Linked DNA regions of Homo sapiens: region 2 is linked to region 1. The links are contacts of gene promoters, found by promoter capture Hi-C in human tissues and cell types (Jung and others, 2019). All regions are on one chromosome and are shown on one strand. The core of a region is centred on a gene start or on the middle of the fragment in contact, and the rest is flanking DNA. Distances in the headings are between cores, read along the strand shown. Region 1 holds the start of MYOD1 (myogenic differentiation 1). Region 2 has its middle 45 kb from the start of LINC02729.

The links. Contacts are between HindIII fragments. The study calls those that stand out against the background at their distance.
Region 2: a contact is called between a fragment that was not itself captured here and the fragment with the promoter of MYOD1 in region 1, in 2 of the 25 tissues and cell types used here (H1 embryonic stem cells and pancreas).

The regions. Positions count from the first base shown.
Region 1 is chr11:17,718,037-17,723,659 of GRCh38, reverse strand. It overlaps MYOD1 (myogenic differentiation 1), which reads right to left and starts at 4,089. Exons shown (of 3, transcript NM_002478.5): 1 at 3,248-4,089; 2 at 2,680-2,758; 3 at 1,524-2,405. The coding sequence starts at 3,877. The coding sequence ends at 2,152. RefSeq lists enhancers at 2,117-2,628, 2,629-3,140. The HindIII fragment of the contact is 9,376 bases long and covers 1-5,623 here.
Region 2 is chr11:17,649,347-17,655,079 of GRCh38, reverse strand. No RefSeq gene overlaps it. Among named protein-coding and RNA genes, the nearest start is that of LINC02729, 45 kb to the left of the region's middle. RefSeq lists an enhancer at 4,118-4,618. The HindIII fragment of the contact is 3,454 bases long and covers 2,456-5,733 here.

The DNA.
Region 1 (5,623 bases), core at 2,840-5,339:
TTAGGGAACCTTCCCCTTTGCTTCTATGGCGTTCCCCTGCTACATGCACCTCCAGTACAGTACTTAATTCAACAGGATGTAACCAGCTGCTAAAAGGTTCCATCCTAGTCAAATGTTTGTGTGCTTCCCAAGGGCGGGAACTGCATCCAACAGTCTCTGTTTTCACCCAGCATAAGACCTGGCATCTGTGGAATCAATGAATTCATGAATGGACCCCAGGGGGTCTCAAGGGTATAAAGAATCCCAAGGGACATGTGGGGAAGTGGCCAGAAGACAAGTGGAGGATCATTCGTAACACAACAGCTCTGGGCAGCTTCCTAGGCACCCTGTGTTGGGGAGAGCAGAGAATGGATCCTCAGACAGGTAATGAGGATATTCGGATATTCCTTCTGGCATCACATCTTGCCTGCATTCCTGAGGGCCCCCTACTTGGCAAACAAAACCCTTGAAAGTGGGCCTGTAGGGTTTTCAGGAACAACATATATGGGGTGGGATGTAGGAGGTCCTGAGGTCCTCATGGCACGCGTGTGTTGGGGGTGGGGAGGTGGTAAGTGAGTGGGGAAGAACCCTTGCCAGACCATCCCTCAGGGGCCTTGGACCCAGGGGAGGGCACAGGTACCTGTGTGTGTGTGTGTGCGTGTGTGTGTGTGTGCATTGTGAGTACATTGTCTACTCTTGTTTCTTAAGACAGAGCTCAAATGACAACTCTTCCGGGAAGCCCTCCCCAACACTCAGGCTAAATAAATGCCCCCTCCTCTGCTCTCAGAGAGTTTATAGCCTGATGAAGAGTACCTATGCCATCTGTGATGATGCTGGCCCACATGCCGCTCTGCTCACAGGATCCGGGCTCCTGTTGTCTTATGGAATCTGATAGTGTCGGGATGCTCTAGGTGCTGGGTAGAGGTGTCTGTGCCTGTCTGGCCTTCTATGCTATCTCTTTGCAGTTACACCTATTACTAATGGGCTGTAAGTGCCAGAGAGCTTACAGCACATGTCTACACTCATTTAGATCTTCCTCGGAATGCTGTGGGCACCCTATCACATCCTCTATACCCAACGAGGCCCCCAAGTGATGCCTGGGCCACAACCTTCCCGTGGTTCTTCTGGTTATCACACCTGGGTTCACTCACTTTATATGGAGGGGATGATTCTCAGCCTTGAATGAACTTCAGAATCACTTGGGGAGCTTTTGAAAAAAAATACCAATACCTGGCCCTGGGTATATGGGGCAGAAACATTAAATCAGAATATCTAGGGGGCGAGCTCAGACATGGGTTTAAAAAATACTCATATCAACCTGTGTACCCTTCCATAAGAGCCACGGACGTGTGTAGTAATGTAGTCAAGGTCAGAGGAACTTCCTCACGTACTGGAGAAATTTGCACCCCTCCTTCCTTCCCCAGGCAGCAGGCTTCCTCCTTGCAATCCGCCTGCCGCCTACAGGCGTCGCTGAGGGACAGCTGGCCCAGTTTGCGGATTTTCCTCCGGATCCCACACCCATGTCCAGGGAAAGCCGGAGCCACGGCGGTATAAATTAGCGCCTTTATTTTGATCACCTGAGCGAGCGCCCGCGGCTCGCCCGCCTGCGGTATAAACGTACAAATTCCCTGTAGCACCACACACCATGCCTCAGAGATAAATACAGCCCCAGGGGCTCCTGCTCTGGCAAAGCAACTCTTATTTACAGGAATAGATTACAAAAGTATTACAAAAAGTGGTCCTGAACCGGGAAACGGGTTGGGGGTGGGTTACGGTTACACCTGCTACATTTGGGACCGGAGTGCACTGGGTCTCACGCCCCCCCAAATAACCGGTGCATCCCGGGGCAGGGCTTAGGTCTGCGAGGGTCTCACCCCCATGGGGGAGGGCGCGAGAAAGCTGAACCTAGCCCCTCAAGGTTCAGCTCTGGCCCACCGAGGAACACGGAGCGGCCATCGCAATGGGTCTCCGAGAAGGGTGCTGCGTGGAAAAAACCGCGCTGTGTCCTTGCCCTGTGGGGCGGGGGCGGAAACTTCAGTTCTCCCGCCTCTCCTACCTCAAGAGAGGTCGCTTTTAAAGCGCTGTTGGGAGGGGGGCATTTAAGTTCAATCTTTTGGGCGCGAGGGACCCTAGGGGCACCATCCCTCGGGCGGGTGGGCGGCCACCATCCCCTCAGAGCACCTGGTATATCGGGTTGGGGTTCGCACCCGCAGGGCACTGCGGGGCGGCGTCCGGTGACTGGGTGGGGTCGCCGCTGCTCTCTCCCTCGCTGGGGGCGGCAGCCTCTTGCCTGCGCGGAGGCGACTCAGAAGGCACGTCCGCCAGCAGGAGGGCGGGCGCCGCAGGGCTCTCGGTGGAGATGCGCTCCACGATGCTGGACAGGCAGTCTAGGCTCGACACCGCCGCACTCTTCCCGGGCCTGGGTTCTGCGCGGGGAGGGCTCGGTTAGTAAGCAGGGGTGGGGCCGCGACAAGCCTCCCACCCCCGGGCCCAGTACTTTGAGACAGATTGGAAACTGAGGACTTTAGTTAGAGTCCGGGACAATCCAAAAGACAGGGAGCTACTTGCTTAGTATTTCATCTCCTGCACCACTTCCCAGGACATAGGCGTGTGTGAGTGGGGGTGGGAGCGTCCTAGATAGAGGCCAGGACAGCTCCATGAAGGAGGAGGAGCGAGCAGGGAGAGGCCCGGAATACCCACCGCTGGGCGCCTCGTTGTAGTAGGCGCCTTCGTAGCAGTTCCGCCGCCGGGCGCCGCTCGGGGGGCCGCTGTAGTCCATCTGCAAACAGCAAGGGCGACTGAGTCAGGCCCGCGGGACGGCTCGAGGCCCGAACACCAATTCCTGTAGCCGCCCCCTCCCTAACTCTAGCCTAAGGCTCTAGTTCCGGGCCCAGACCTGTCCTGGTTGGGGGGGTAATTACGGGTGGGTAGGAGATGAGGTCTGCAACATGCAGGGCCAAACCAAGGGCGGACAGTCACCAAGGGGCGCAAATTTACATTTTGGAAGTAGGGATAAGTAGAGAAAAAGATCTTCACGTTCGCGCTGCAGTGTTCTAATAGCGCCCCCAATGGGGCAGCTCGAACGCTTGCCCGCACACTTCCAAAACAGGCTACCCCAGTGACAGCTGCCCAGGACAAGGGGGTCCTCTCTCTCGGGAAGGATCCTGGCCCAAACCTCCCGCAAGGCCAGCTCCCCGCCCTCGGAAACGCGTCCCTGATATCCCGAGCGCCGCCCTAACTTCCTCACTTCCTGGGGTCCCGGCCTTACCATGCCGTCGGAGCAGTTGGAGCGCGGGCTGGACGCGTCGGAGTCGCCGCTGTAGTGCTCGCCGCCGCGGCCCGGGGGCAGCGGGCCCGGCGCATAGAAGGCGGCTGCGGCGCCAGGGGGCGCGGCGTCCTGGTCGCGCAGCAGAGCCTGCAGGCCCTCGATATAGCGGATGGCGTTGCGCAGGATCTCCACCTTGGGCAACCGCTGGTTTGGATTGCTCGACGTGCAGCGCTTGAGTGTCTCAAAGGCCTCATTTACTTTGCTCAGGCGGCGCCGCTCGCGCATGGTGGCGGCCTTGCGGCGGTCGGCGTTGGTGGTCTTGCGCTTGCACGCCTTGCAGGCCCACAGTAGGCAGCGGCCCGCCTGGTGGTGCCCGCTGGGCGCGCGCACATGCTCGTCCTCACGTGCGCCCGGGGCCGGGTGCACCGCCGCGGGGAAGTGCGAGTGCTCTTCGGGTTTCAGGAGCGCGCCCACGTGCATCAGGCGCGGGTCCAGGTCTTCGAAGAAGCGCAGGTCCGGGGAGTCGAAACACGGGTCGTCATAGAAGTCGTCCGTTGTGGCAAAGGAGCAGAGAGAGCCGTCGGGGGCCGTCAGGTCTACGTCGCGGAGCGGTGGCGACAGTAGCTCCATATCCTGGCGGTGGCGCGGCACGGTCCTGGCTTCGCCCAACCCAAGCGGCAGAGAGTGGCCGGAACTTTCTGCCGCTCGGGAGCCCCGGCTGTAGATAGCAAAGTGCTGGCAGTCTGAATGCCCACCCACTGTCCCCCACCCCTCCCTCTCCTGTCCGGCCTGATTTGTGGTTAAGGAAAGCGGCGGCAGCGCCCCAGGGCTTCCTCACCCCTAGCTTCTCGCCAGGCGCCCTGGGCTATTTATCCGTAGTAGCCTAAACGCCCCGGAGCCCAGGCGGGCAGCTGGGGGAGGGGGAGTCCGAGGCCAATAGGAACACTGCGGGGCGGGGCTTGGGGGGGTCCCCGGGGTGGCCGCAGGGGCCCGCAGACTGGCCAGCCAGCCCGCCCCTCCACACTGGCGTGCGCGCTAGGTCCCCTACCGGGCAGGGAGGGAGGGAGCGACCGGCAGCCCTAGGCGGCTGCACTTGGCTCTCCGGCACGCCCTTTCCAAACCTCTCCAACACCCGACTGCTGTATCCGCGGGAAACGCTGGCTGCGCGCGCTCACCTCTGAGCTGACTTTCAATACTCCTCTGTCCCCTGATTTGTGGGGGACCCATGGGTAGAGCGGCTGTAGAAATCAGGTCGTGAGAGATTTGGAGAGAGGCAAGGCATTGGGGGCACAGAGCTGAGGAGTGAGACCGTGAAAGAGGGACCGAAAGAGGCTGAGAGACACGCAGAAAGCAGAAAGCTTAGAGCGTCAGGGGCAGAGAAACGCACGAGTGCAACAACAGGCGGAGAGACCCCGAGAGTTGAAGTGGGCGAGCCCGAGACAAACGGGTCGTAGAGGCTCTGATATTCCGCCAGTCCCCGACCTGGGAGTTGCTCAGCAGGTCGTGGGCCCAGTCCTTCTTCCCTAGACGCTTAGAAACCCAGCTATGGTTGTACAGGAATCGGAGATTGCTGCTAAAGCTTCGCGCCAATCTCTCCAAACTCGGATCCTGCCCAGGTTAGGAATCCCCTCCATCTAAATCTGCACGTTTCCACAGCAGGGGTGTCCAGTGCCATGCCTGGGGTCTAGGCTGAGCTGCCTCTTCAGCTGGGAAGAAAACCCTTCTGCTCGGGGCTTGGCTCCGCCTCACTCGCGGTGCTGAGTCAAGGAAAGTGCATTTCGCCAAGGTGTCAAACTTCAGGACCTGGCCTGAGAACCTGACCTCATCTCACCTGAAGTCTCCGAGAGTGCGGTTTGCAGACCAGTTGAGTGCAGACTCCAGAGTTTCCCAACTGTGTGATTTTGTGGAAGTCATGTCTCCTTCCTGAGCCTCAGTTTCCAGTTATAGATTTGGGGATGACAGTAATTTCTTGGAGTAATTGTGGTGGGGATGACAGTCTGAAGAGACCAAGGATATGGAAGCCCTCAGGCGGTGATGTAGGGTTATTCGAGCAAGGGGCTTTCAGAGTTGGATGCTGTGTCCCGCAGGCTTACAACTCATCTGTGGTACCATGCCCTGACGGAGTGCCACGAGTCTCCAGGCCTTAGCTGTGTCTCTTTCCTGCAGCCTCACTGGAAAGGCTGGAAACAGGAGGAGGCAACCACCCCATGGGATGTGGGATATCTGGCTCCCATACAAGCCTCAGCATACCGGCCACCCCCATGGGGGTCTCTCAGCCTCTTCCTGAATCTGCAGTTCACACAGTCCTCTCAGCACTCTGGCTAGGAATCTCCGTTGGCCATACATCCCTGCCTGGATCTCCCCTCCTGGAAACCA
Region 2 (5,733 bases), core at 2,933-5,432, 69 kb after region 1:
ATATGGTTTTAATTTCTAGAAACTTTTTTTTCTGATTGTACTTTATTAGCCTCCTATTTTTTAGATACAATATCCTCATGGATCATCCTGGGAATATTAATTAGAATACTGTTCATGCTTTTCCTCTTCCTTGAATTGATTGACTTTTCATTGAGGGTAAGTTACCCTGCCATTTCAACTTGGGCACCATTTTGCCATTGTCCATTCTTTTCAAATAATGAGTTTTAACTGGCTGGTAATATGTATAATAAAATTCTGGATTAATTAGAATTGGTACTGTGAGGGTTTTCTTAGCAGCTATGTAGGCAAGTGGCTGGAGGAGACATACCATAACCATTCACTCATAGTTGATGGTGATTTCTATGGTCACGGTCCTCTGATGGTGGAATCACAGGGATATTTACCAAAAATGATCTCCTCTAATCTTCATGTATTTCTCACAGTTATTGTAATTACTGTTCCAACTTTACAGTTGAGGAAACTGAAATTCAGGGAGGTTCAGTAATTTGCTAACATCACAGAACTCGTGAGTAAAGCAACCAGGATTAGAGTCTGGACCATCTTTCTACCTATACACTATGCTGCCTCCCATTTGCTTTATAACTTCAAGAAATTTCCTATTTCTGACCTATTGGTGGAACTGTTTCATGTTTTCCGGTACAGGCACAGATATTTTCTAGTGTTAAAATTTCTTTTGTTTTTTTCATCTGGCTTTTGTGAGTATTTTGAGAGTATTCATGACCTTAGTTTGTGTTTTCTCTTAATCTTAAGACTCCAGCCCACATTCTTTCCATATTATAAACTATGTCCTTAAGTTAAGTTCCTCTTTAAGTTAAAGCCCTCAGTGGGACAACTGAGAAAAAGGAAAAGATATTTTTGAGGGACTTCATATATACTTTGTAAAATAAAATTAAATGTTCATAAATTTTACAAATACATTCCTATCAACAGTGCATCAAAATGCCAGCTACTCCATGGGGTGTAGTTTTTAATTGGTGTCTCTGGAAGCCCCAAACTTTTAAGATGTTTAATGGTGGAATTTGAGGCACAGTGACACATGGGCAGAGGAGATATTTTTGGGAGCAATTTCTGCCCTGTACCTCCCAAATCCCTCACAGACCCCCTTTCTTCTCGGGCAGCCCCTCCTGCACATGCTGGGGGCAGGGCTTGGGCTTAGGGCACCTCTGCCAGGATCCCACTGATCTATGTTCTTGCCTGACACTCAGCAGCTGTCGTGGAGGCGTGGGCTGCAGGCGCTGTTCCCCATGGGCCGTGTGCAGGCCGCAGGCCGGGGAGCCTTTCCCGCCTAATCCGAGGGGTGCTGGCAGTGGGGAGGGAGACAGCTGGGTGTAACTGATCTGCAAAGGAATGGAATGGTGCAGGCCCCCCAGCACTGGGCTGGGCCGTCTGCAGGCTGCCTGTCCCAGCTGCTGAGCCTTAACCCTTCCCTCTCTTATTTCTTTCTCCCCTCCATTGGGAAGTTGATGTCACCCAGCTTAGCCAAGTCCCGGGAAACCCCTTGAGAAATAAGCTTCCCTAGCTGGGTATCTACACCTTGAAAAGGATCCAGCTAGGTGATAGTTTCTGCTGGGGGGCTTGGGTCCTACCTGGGAACTTCCTGTCTCAGATAGAGACAGGGCTTTTGGAAGGCCTAGTGGGCGACTCAGATAGTAGAGGCTGTAAGGTCAGCACAGGGAGGCCCACCCTAGGTTGGAGCTCAGGGAAGATTCTCTGGCAGAGGCAATGGAATGGGCACTCGGTTTGGAGTCTGGCGCTGCCTCCACCATTGCTCACTTTGCAGTGAGACTCTGGGTGAGTCACTGTCATTCCCTGGGATCAGTTTCCTAATCCTGAAAAGGAGGAGTTTAAAGATATTCCTAAAGGTTTAGGAAAGAAGGTTCATAGTGGAAACAATAGCTCCATTTATTAAATGCCTACCATAGGCCAGGACTCTATCTATAAACATTCTCACCATCACTTTGCCAGACTCTCATTTCCATTTTGGTGATGAGGAAACTGAGACTTGGAGAGTGTAAATCATACAGCTGTTCAGAGATAGAACCTACCCCACAATCTAGGCCCTTTACTAGATCCCGAAGATCAGCTCCAAGGATCCGTAAATGGTGATCTGGTTCAGTGGAACAGAGGCAAGATGGCATAGCTGGATAGGGCACACAGAGGCAAAGGCTTAGCAGTGAGCCCTGAGTCTGCTGGATGGAGGGTGGGCTGGGACTGAGTCCGGCTCTTTGAGCCTGCTTTTCTCTTGCTCTGGTCCCAGCTGGGCTGGGATTCCCTGGCTCAGCCCAGCAGCCTCACATATGAGCACAGCCTCTGCAGTTGTCCAGCCCTTTCCCATCCATGATCTCACTTGACCCTCTTGCCAACTCTGTCGCAGAACCTATTGCTTCTCCTCACCATGGGGAACTGAGGCTTAAAATTTGCCAATGTTCTACAACTGCTAACTGGCCAAAGAGAAACTAGAACCTTCTTTCCACTGCTCCCTCTGGCTTCCAGGAAGAAGGAGCCTGGAGTAACAGGGAGGAAGAGCTCCCAGGCACCCAGCAATCTTCTTAGTCTCTTTCTGGGCTGAGAAAGAAAGTGTGAGTGTGGGCTCTGGAGTTAAACAGTTGTGAGCTTGAGTCCTAATTCCTCCACTCTCAAGCTGTGCAAGTCACTTACCCTCTCTGAGCCTTAGCAGCCTCATCTGTTATGAATGAAGATGTCGTGGGAATAAATGAATGACTGCTGGAGCCAGACCTGCATCTCCCCTCCCTGGGCAGAGCACAGGCACAGGCTGGCATGGGAAGCCCCAGTCAAGCAGAAACTAGGGCTGGGGGGCTAGAGGCCAAAGGGAGGGCTCCTAGGTGCTGCTGTGTTGTAGCTGCTCTGCAGGCTAGGCAGGGACTGTCGAGGGAGAGGAGGAAAAGGACACTCCAGGTGAGGCAAAGACACAGAGGCAGGAATGGACACTGTGTAGGAGGACCAGCTATAAGGTTTGGGTTTGGCTGGCTTGGGAGAGGTACGGTCTTCATGGCCAGTGAGAAACAAGCCTAGAGAATGGTTTATCTCTAGAGAAAGAGTTGTCCAAGGGTTCAGGGGCTGGACCAGTTACCCAGCATGCTGCCTGCCCATCTCCACCCACCCCCACCCAATCCCTGGGGTGCTGTGTTCTCTGGGCAAGGGGCCGGGGGCATCAGGGAGGTGGCAGAGGGAGGGGGAAGCATGCAATCCCAGCTCGGGAGAGACAGCTGTGCAGGCCTCCTGCCTGCTGCAGGGGATTAACTGGCACCGCACAGTATGTTAGGGAGCACCTGGCTCCCCGGTTCTGCCCACCCCTGCACCCTTTAACTCTTTGTTGTCTGGGCTCCTCACCTTCAAGCTTAGAGGTATGTTCACACTTATTCTCCAGTGTCCTCAGTGTTCCATGTTGGAAACAGAGATAAAGAAAGACCTAAGGTGGGGTCTGCCCAGCCAGAGGTATCTGTGTCATCACTGTCCCTCCTCATGCCAGCTATGGCCCTCTGAGACCCTGACTTTTCTCCACAGCAAAGCTTTTCTGTTTCCACTGGCTTCTCCAGGGCATACAGTCAAATCACTGCCTACCTCAAGTCCTCCCCTAACTCATGCTCTATCTCTTCTTTTCCAGTCACACTTTCTAGCATTGTCCTCCTCACTCTCTCCGCTTCCTCACAGAGACAGCACTGCCCACCAGACCCATCTTCCTGGGCACACAGCTGGACTACGTTCCCCAGCCTTTCTTGCACTGAGATGTGGCCAGTTCAGGCCAGTGGAATCCGAGTGGAAGGGAGTGAGCCACTTTCAGTCCTGGGCCCTGCAAGCTTCCCGCACATGCTCTCCCTGCACCTCGGCTGGCTGATGCCTGAGATCACAGAGACTCTGGGAGGCCCGTGCTGAAGGTGGTAGAACCTCAAGACAGAGGAGCCAGGATCCCTAAATCATTCTGGACACAAAGCTCTAGCTACCTACTTATTTTGAGTGTTTTTTTTAAATAGGAGGAAGGAATAAGCTTCTATCATGTTTGAGCCTTGCTGTGTGTGAAAAAAATAAATGAGGAATTTGGTCCCCTCTCCTCTACCTCCCCATGTGGGACAACCCAGAAAAGCAGGGAAGAGGGGTCTGGAACTCAGAAAAGAGGGTTGGAAGGGGAACAGCTCTGGTGAAGGGAGAGGAACAGGATGTTACCCATGAAGCTGAAGTTAGATATGTAGCGTTTGACTTCCAATTTGAAGCTGTTCCTGAACCTGTCGTCTGCCTTCCCCAAACCACCATGACAAGTGTGCAAGACTCCAAGGCCTTGTGTGGTCAGAGGCTTGGGAAAATGTAAACAAAAGCGCCACACGTGGGTGAGGCCAGGGGGATCTGGGCCTGGGGAGGGGGCCTGTGCAGACAGTGCTTACCACAGTGACAAGGAAAGGGTTAAGGGGGTCTGTGAGCAGGATTGGCTCTCCTCACAGTGAGGGTAGTAAAATCAGCATGTCGCCTCCAATTTGCTCCGGCCTGACCTTGAACGTGAATCATTCCATCACAATGTCCTTATTGATTTCCACAGGAAGAGGATTAAGCCCAGAAAATCAGGGCGGGAACTTGAGCCTGCACCACGGAGAATGGGATGGTTCTGCAGCTCAAAACTCCTCGTGTTTGCAAATACGTCACAGGGGGCTGCAAGCTGGGCAGCCACCCTGCTCGGCCACCAATCTCTCAGTGGCTCTGCTGGTCCTGGCTTTCTGTTTCCTCAGCTGTGTGTGGCCACTGGAGTTGCCTCAAGCTTTAAGTAATGCACAGAGTGTGGGAGGAAACAGGAATGGGGGAGATGCCACAGATGTCCCTAGGGCCTTCAGTCTATTCTAGTCTCTTCTGATGATCTCCTGGGATCTGAAAAGGCTATTCTAGGACCAAAGTTGCCACTGAACTAGTTGGTGGCTCAACAGCCAGGAAGGACCTTCCTCAATCTTGAAAACTCTTCAAGGGAATGAGACGTGTGTGTGTGTGTGTGTGTGTGTTGTGTTGTGTTGTATGTGTGTGTGTATTACCCACACAGGTGCATAAAGGAGGGATCATTCTGTGTGAAACAACCCACAATTTCCTGTCATCATTTAACATATCCTGGAGAGCTCAGCATGTCAGTACCCAAAAGGGCTACATAATATTCACGAGTGTGGCTGTACCAGGTTGCTTAATCCTTCCCTACTGACAGGCATTTGCAGTTGTTACTAATTTTTAACACTCAGGACAATGCCGCAATAAACATCCTGGCGCATGCCTCTGCAGGAATTCTTTCTTTTGATGCTATCTGTTTCCTATTGCTCCTGTAACAAATTGCCACACATTTAGTGGCTTAAAACACACACATTTATTCTCTTACAGTTGTAGAGGTCAGAAGTATGAAATCAGCTTCACTAAGCTAAAATCAAGGGGCCAGCCAGCCTGTGTTCCTTCTGGGGGCTCTAGGAGAGAATCCAGTTCCTTGATTTTCCAGCTTCCAGAGGCTGCCTGGATTTCTTGACCAGTGGCCCCTTACACTAACTTCAAAGTACATCACTCCAACCTCGCTTCTGTCATCCCGTCTCCTCTCTCTGACTCTGACCTGGCTGCCTCTCTTATATAAGGACGCTTGTGATTACACCGGGCCCACCTGGATGACCCAGGATAATCCTCTTATCTCAAGATCCTTAATCACGTCTGCAGAGTCCCTTTTACCATGTAATGTAATAT